2 separate regions of the Homo sapiens genome follow, and region 2 is linked to region 1. Evidence: promoter capture Hi-C in 16 types of primary human blood cells and fetal thymus (Javierre and others, 2016). All regions are on one chromosome and are shown on one strand. Each heading gives the region's core, a stretch centred on a gene start or on the middle of the fragment in contact. The rest is flanking DNA. Distances are from core to core; before and after follow the strand shown.

Region 1 (3,929 bases), core at 859-3,358:
AAGGGGATAATGATTGGAGACATGTTTCTTAAGCACCAAAGTCAGTAAGTGAATTTTGCTACCAGTTTTTTAATGTTGGCTGCAGTTCTGCCTTTATCTTACAAAAAAGAAAAAAAAAAAAGAATTAGCATTGCTCCATGCTACCACCTGTGTAGACTTAAAAGCTTTAACCTGAAAATATTCCTAATGAATATAGAGGAGAGAAAGCAAACTGGCATGAATATAAAAAGGACTTTTTCCATAAGAGATCCCCTGAGGAATGAGGCTTCATTTTGCACCAGAGGCTGTGTCTCCCTGAGAAAATAAAGAGATCCCTGGGGTATTAACGTCTGAGACATACATTTATAGAGCTTGGTTAGTGCTCAGAAACAAGAAAAGTCTTAACAGGGATAGTATATTGGAATTAGGTGGTACATATAAGTAAATGCAGATACACTGGTAGGAAATTGGGTTTCATAAAAATTCTGTGTTTCTTTATAAAGGAAAAGTCTGAAGTTTGAATGAACGGCAGGCCTGCCTGAGGAAAAAATTGATCCTGCTGAGGATGGATGAAAGCTGTGGGCCTGAATCAAGAAACCCAGACTTTATAAAGAGTCAAACTTTAGGAGGTTTACACTTTACATTAGGATTTCTCATTTTGTTACCAGGATCTTTTTAACCTTTTTGATCCTTTAATCCTTGAAAGGATTTGGACTTTGTGTGTCATTTGATAAAAGAGAACTTCCGGGAATACAGTTCCCATTGCTAGGAGTGCTGCTTAAACATAACCACTTGTGAGGAGCCAAGACCCCAGGCAAAACCGGGGGCCAGTTTCTGGGCCCAGGTGATTGTTAAATTTAGAGGTCTTGATCACAGCTATAGGAAATAGCTTTTCAAACAAAACATTGGTGAGTCAGAATTTATCGAACACCACCATTTATACATTAAATAAACACTAAGAAAAAATATTCTAGCGACAAATGTAGTGGTGAAAACATGGAATGGATTTGAGAAAATACATCAACGTCTTCTCCAGGTATAAAAAAACGTATTATTTAGTGGAACTTTCAGTCTGACTAGAAAGTGGACATAGCATTTATTAAAAGGACAAGAACAACAACAAAAAATTAAAGTAGGACAAATGTGTTTAAGGTACTTTATAGTTTTATTTTTATTTATTTATTTCTTTGAGACGGAGTTTTGCTCTTGTCCCCCCAGGCTGGAATGCAATGGTGCGTTCTCGGCTCACTGCAACCTCCGCCTCCCAAGCTCAAGCGATTCTCCTGCCTCAGTCTAAGGAATAGCTGGGATTACAGGCACACGCCACCACGCCCGGCTAATTTTTGAATTTTTGGTAGAGACGGGGTTTCGCTATGCTGGCCAGGCTGGTCTGGAACTCCTGAGCTCAGGTGATCGATCACGCCCGCCTCAGCCTCCCAAAGTGCTAGGATTACAGTCGTGAACCACCGCGCCAGGCCTACTTTATAGTTTTAATTTTTTTTTTTTACATAAAAGTGGTTTATTTGTATGTAGACCTCTACATAAAAATTACAATGAGGGTTATTCCCAGGTATAGGAGCGGTGTTTCTGGTTAAAGAAATCATGAATGATGTTTTCAGAGACACTCATGAAAGAGAAATGGCTCCCCGGGTTCTGAGGGTGAGGAGCAGCGCCCGCCCTCTAGGATGCTTCCAGAGTGAGTGTGCAGCACAGCCGGACCGAGGAAAAGGATTATTCCCCTCTTCACGCGGGTCGGGCCGTGCCCTGGACTACAGCTCCCGTCGTGCCCCTGGCCACTCGTATTCGGCCCCGCCCCGCCTGCCGTGTCCCGCGGCGAGCGCAGGCGCGCTGCACTCGGTCACCGCGGGCTGCGGCGGCTGGGCGGGGCTTTCGGGCGCCCGCGGGACGGTTCCGCCCTCTCACTGCACCCCCGGGCTTCTCTTCGCAAGGTTCACCTCGAATGAGGAACAAGCGGGGAGGGAAGGGAAGGGCTGCGGCGGCGCGGGCGCACCCCGTCGGGCCCGGGGCTGGGGGAGGCCAGGTCACGTAACTGCTGCTCTGGCGTCGGGCCGGGGAGGGGGCGCCAGCCCCGGCAGCGCGAACCCTGCGCGCGCCGCGGCTCTGAAACAGTTACCGGCTAGTAAACAACAGCTGCGCGCGCACCCGCATCAGCTGGCGCCGGGATACTGCACCTGCGACCTCCTTCTCCCTCACCCTGCTGCCCAGTCAGGCCAGCCTGCGTGGCCGTCTCCTCCTCTACTGGGACCCTGAGGAAGAACGACGAGGGGGTGACCTGCGCCGGGGCGGGGGTAGGGGAGAACGCGCCTCCGGCAAAGGGGGTGGCTCGTCCTGTCACACGCAGGAGAAACCTAGCGAGCGGACCGTGGCTCAGTGGACTAGCTACGACTTGCCACGACTCTGAGCTGCAGTCCGAGGTGTCTTGATCCGCTAACCTCCTCCCAGACCCCGAGGACCTTTCTGCTAGGAGAAGAGCGGGCGCGCCACCCCCACCGACCTCTCGGAGACAGGAATCCGCTCTGCCCCTGCATCCTCCTCTGCTCACCCTTCTCTCAGTAGTGTGGGTTATTTTTCCCGTTATGCATGTGCACCTTTCCCACCAGACCCAAGTGGATTGTCGACATCAAAAACACCGGGTGGCTTTGCATACACCTCCCCCCAGCCAGACCTGTGGGGTATTCACCTGATACACAACAGGTGGCCGGGTGTACACCTTTTAGCAATCTGATCCACGCTATAGTCGCCTGATAAAGGTTTGCCTGCACGCACTTCGCCCAACTAGAACCGTGGGACACTCACCAGATAAAGGACTACCTCGACAGGAAACTGGGGGCTGAGGGGAGGGAGGCTTCATCTGCTGCCCTGAGACCATGGCACTGAGCCTTCAGCCCCGGACCAGAGGGGTTAGCTAGGTAGCTCTTCATTCTGAAGGAAAGAAGTCACACAAGATTGGCATTGTTTTGTCTTTTTGTTTTTTGTTTTTTTCTCTCTTAAAAAATATATTCACCTATTGGTGATGCACTTTCTAGGACAGTCGGCTTGAATTCTGAGTAGAAGTATTCTTAGTTGGGGCTTTTTGTGTGGTGTGAATCAAGGTTATTGAAATGTGTTATTTTTCAAGTTATCTTTTGTATTGCAGTCAAAAGTAGCTAGCGTAAGAGGAAGATTTTGCGAGGTTCCCCCCACTTTTTTTGTTCTTAAAAAGAACAAAATGCATCCTCCAGAAACCACCACCAAGATGGCTTCAGTTCGGTTCATGGTGACACCGACAAAGATCGATGACATTCCAGGTTTGTCAGACACCAGTCCGGACCTCAGCTCTCGATCTAGTTCCCGAGTAAGATTTAGCTCCCGGGAAAGCGTGCCTGAAACAAGCCGGAGTGAGCCTATGAGTGAGATGTCTGGGGCCACCACTTCGCTGGCAACTGTTGCACTGGATCCACCCAGTGACCGGACTTCTCACCCCCAGGATGTCATCGAGGGTAAGTAGAAACACAGACCGCAGCATACTTTCATTACTGGGTTCTTTATCCAAGATGACCATCTATGGATCTGGAAGATCATAATCATATAATTATGATTATAATAGTCATCAGGAACCAAGGCATCTCTTTGTGAGATGCTTAGGAACTCTTTGGAATAATAGCATAGTGGCTCTTTGCAGTAGTAATTTGGTATGTGGGAAGGTGTATGACAAGAAGGAAGGCAAATGTATATTTTAACTTCCTCATTTTTGTCTTCTTAGAAATGAAATGGGTATTTTGGTTAAAAGTGAATATCAAAGAATGTAATCGTTTTCAGCACACAGAATCCTAAATTTTAAAATTTAGTGAGTTGGATATGTGTTCTGTAGCCATCATTGGCTATTTCAGTCTGCTTTAAGACTGGTTTCATGGAGTAGTTACTGGTCGTATCTTAGCAGCTTTCCTCCA
Region 2 (3,929 bases), core at 1-2,500, about 16 Mb before region 1:
TTCACAGCGTCTCCCGTCCCAGTCTGCCTAGTTGAATCTAGGGACACTTAAAGGTAAATCCTAGCCTCTTGGCTGTCCTTCCGTCTCCCAGGATTCTGCTAGGCCGCACAGTTGGCAAGCTTAAAACTCCAAAGATTCCGCACTCTCCGTCTTTCAACAGTCATGTCACAGAGACACGAAGGTTAGCACAGGAACATTAGTTTCCAAACTCCTACCCACCGCAGAACAGGCGGGAAGGTTCGGTGGCCACCCGGCCTCTCCGCCGCGCACATGGCCGTCCGCAGCTCCCACCCCCGCTGCCGCGCAGGCGCCGGGCGAGCCGGGACTTGCGGTCGCCGAGAGCGGATCATTCCGCCGCTTTCTTTGTGTGGCTGAAGCGCTAGAAATGGCATATTTTCTTTCCCTTCGTTAAAAAATCAGACCCTCTTTCCCCTCTCTCCCCGCGGGAACACAGCTAGGGAGTGGGTAGGAGCAGGATCTGCCGACGAGGGCAGAGGCGGAAAATCCTCGGGCGATGAGCTGAAGAGGGCCGGGTCCGGGAGGGATGCTGGGAGCTTGACTCACTCGCACACCATGTGTCCCTCCGCGCGCAGCACGGGGGACTTTTCGGTGGGGATTTTGGGCGCCGACCAGACGCGGCATTTTCGGAAAATAGCGCCCTGTGCAGCTGAAGCGCTTTGTGTGTAGCGGGGCCGCGTCAGCCCGGCCGGGTACGAGGCGCCTCGGGTCCCCGCACCACCTCCTGCTGCCTTCCCGTCGCCGCTCCCGAAGCTTTTCCAGGTCAGTGCGGGTCTGTGTAGGGCCCTGTTACCACCGGATGTGGAAGTTGATCTCTTCGCTGGTAAAAAATAATTCCACTTCCCCCGGAACCCAGATCATCCCCGCGATTTCCTGTTTATTGCATTAAGGCGCCGGGTTTCCGGGGCTCCTGGCCCCGCTTATTCCGCGGGGGTCGGCGGGGTCGGCCTGGGCGCCCGCGCCGCCGCTGCGCTTTGTCCGCTGGGCACACTGCTTCTGGGAGGGGCGGGCAGACATGGTGGCGGCCGCCGCCCCCTCCTCGGCCCTAGCATGCCGCGGCCGCCTCGCGGCTACCCGGCTTGCCGGTCCCGAGCGGCAGCCCCGGGGTGGCGATGGGGTCGCGCCGAGGCAGCGGAGGTTCTGCGGGCGACTGGAGGTTGGCAGTGGGCGGGAGAAAGAGGAAGGCAGGCGCGGCTGGGCCTCGGCCTCTGGCGCCGCGGTACCCTTTGTCTCGGCAGCCTGACGGCCCCGCCGGGCTCTCCGGAGAGGGGAACGGGCGGCGAGGGTGGCGGGTCCTGGGCGCCCTGTGCTGCGGGGCCGAGAGGCGCTCGGGTCGCGGCGGGATCGGCCGGACCAGACAGGGTTAATGGAAGAGCCTGGCCAGTCCCGCGCGGGGCCCCCGCAGCGACAGCCTTGGCCGCGGGGACTGGAGTCCTGAGGGGGAGAAGCCTGCCGTTCTGAAGGCTCGGGACTTCTGCCCCAAAGACTTCGCCGCCGAGAACTGCGGGTGCACTGCCTCAGGGAAGAAGTTGAGAATTTTGCCAGGTCATCTCTGCCAGGGCACAGTTCATCACTGTGTGTTTAGTGTGTTTCGGTGAAGCTCTCCAAGTGTGTTGAATCAGCGTGCCTAGCCTCAAGGGTGCATCGTGAAAACTGAAACCAAAGGAATGATACAGGCCTGCTTTGTGTGTGTCTTCCCACTTTAAGCTTGTTTTCAGTACAAATACTCTTGCTTTAAACCTGATTGGACTGTGGCGAGCGGACATCTGTTCAAAGGAGGGGCCGAGACCACAGTACTTCTGAAGGGGGCTTGATAATGTGGAAACATTTTAAGTTTTCTCTCCGGACTGTTTTGCTCTCTCAATTCAGGCAAGTTACTGAAGTACGTTTTTTATCTAGAAAAAGGTTTGATGTAGTCTGTAAATGGTCCTTGTAAAGTACATTGCCATCTCAGAATTAAAAGATCCACTCTCATTTATTATGCAGAAGTTAGTGGTCATTCTTTCCTGTAGATAGTTTATCTCATGTAAAGACCCACCCAGCTTGGTTTAAATTTTTTTCTCACTGACGTATAACCATCAGCTTTGATACTTCCATTTTCAGGCTCAGACTTTGAATTTAAGGAAACTAAAGATGACTTTATTTTCTTTTCTCTTGGTTTTTTTTTTCCAAAAACAAAAAATAAATCCATTACATGTTAACATAGATGATAAGAGTGACATCTTGCATTTTTGCAAATCTTTTTAATGCCTGGTTTAATAGAAGATTCTCAGATCTACGTCAGACTGTTGTGGTTAGCACACCATGTAACCTCTGGAACACTCCACTGTACACTCATACTTTTTTAAAAAAAAAACCAAAAAACAGAAATGTGTCATTCTTACCGTGCTTTCACCATACAAGTCAAATCAAGCTGTTATGCAAGACACATTTTAACAAGACTGAATAAGATTGATTCCCATACTTTTTTTACTGGGCTCTAACTTTTTTAAAAGTTGGAATTTAGGTGACTAAACAAAATCACAGATGAAGACTGCATAATCTGCCTATGATCTCGGAGACTCAGGAACATTCGAAGATATTCTTAAGTGATTAAAACATTTAATTCTATTACATATTTATAATGATTTACACAAGTAACACGTGAATTCCACATATGCTATCAACACTTGTGTAAATGTTATCTTTAAAGATAGAACATGTTGAAAATTATAGGAGGTACAGATTTTACAGAAAATTAATTCTGCAGTGAATCCTTTGGTGAAACGAACAGTTTGCAGAGACATATCCTTAGAGTTCTTTGTCTCTCTGAATCATTCTGGGTTTTCTAGGTTGGGAGACAATTATACTTATTGGGAGACAATTATACTTAATTGATTAATGCATAAAAATTTAAGGCCGTATTTTAATGGCTTTGAAAGGAAGCTAAGTTTGTTTCCAGTTGTTTCTGTGAACTGTAGTCTGAATCTGTCAGTCTATAGTTCTCTACTGTTCCATCAACAGGAAGCATCTGGTCATTCTTCGTGTAATTGTTAGAAAATACCAGGTGTACTTTTAATGTTTGCTGTTCAAACGAAAATAGATTGGATCTTGGTTAAGTTCACTTGGTTTGGCCAGGCACAGTGGCTCACGCCTGCAGTCCCAGCACTTGGGGAGGTGGAGGCGGGCCGATCACCTGAGGTCAAGAGTTTGAGACCAGCCTGGCTAACGCGGTGAAACCCCATTTCTACTAAAAATACAAAAAATTAGCTGGGCGTGGTGGTGCGCGCTTGTAATCCCAGCTACTCGGGAGGCTGAGGCAGGAGAATCGCTTGAGCCAGAGAGGCAAAGGTTGCAATAAGCCAAGATAGCGCCATTGCATTCCAGCTTGGGCAACAGGAGCGAAACTCTGTCTCAAAAAAAAAAAAAAAAGTATGCTTGGTTTTAGTGTGTTTTTTCCCATAACATTGTGTCATTGTAATGGACCACATCTCCTGTACCATGAATTTTTTTTTACTTTTTTCTTTTGCCCCTCAGTACCAGAAATATTAACAGGTAACAGGTAAAGTGCACGTCATGAGGAATTCAGAAATTCAGAAATTACATGAAGTTTTGCATCATGAATTTATTTTTGAGGGTGCACGAGGCAGTTACCCAGTCTCTGTTTGCAAGTAGCCTGAGTTCAGATGAACTCACTGATGGCCTCCATCTCTTCTGACTTTGCAAACGTTGAAAAACAAACCCACACAAAATCTTGAAGTTGAGAGCAACTTAGTTTCCTTAGTGTCATCCCTCTGCTCCCCTCTCCTCCCCAACAACTAGTATGGTTTCCAGCTAGTAATCACAATGTTTCTATAGCTCTGATGTGCCTACATTGGGATAGCTACAATTAGTATTATAGTTTTCTGAAGATGTTTGTTCCATCATGCTTT

The links. Contacts are between HindIII fragments. The CHiCAGO score rates a contact against its expected background, and 5 or more counts as called.
Region 2: a contact is called between a fragment that was not itself captured here and the fragment with the promoter of SLC12A6 in region 1, in 1 of 17 cell types (non-activated CD4 T cells). The highest score is 5.4, in non-activated CD4 T cells.

What each region holds. Positions count from the first base shown.
Region 1 is chr15:34,335,960-34,339,888 of GRCh38, reverse strand. It overlaps SLC12A6 (solute carrier family 12 member 6), which reads left to right and starts at 2,108. Exons shown (of 26, transcript NM_001365088.1): 1 at 2,108-2,557; 2 at 3,137-3,479. The coding sequence starts at 3,209. RefSeq lists a silencer at 1,694-2,253 and enhancers at 3,543-3,662, 3,864-3,929. The HindIII fragment of the contact is 4,998 bases long and covers 167-3,929 here.
Region 2 is chr15:50,351,836-50,355,764 of GRCh38, reverse strand. It overlaps GABPB1 (GA binding protein transcription factor subunit beta 1), which reads left to right and starts at 567. Exons shown (of 9, transcript NM_016654.5): 1 at 567-780. It overlaps GABPB1-IT1 (GABPB1 intronic transcript), which reads left to right and starts at 886. Exons shown (of 1, transcript NR_026891.1): 1 at 886-3,929. It overlaps GABPB1-AS1 (GABPB1 antisense RNA 1), which reads right to left and starts at 1,591. Exons shown (of 1, transcript NR_024490.1): 1 at 1-1,591. RefSeq lists enhancers at 14-93, 162-785, 1,524-1,583 and silencers at 294-343, 924-1,173, 1,184-1,393. The HindIII fragment of the contact is 954 bases long and covers 774-1,727 here.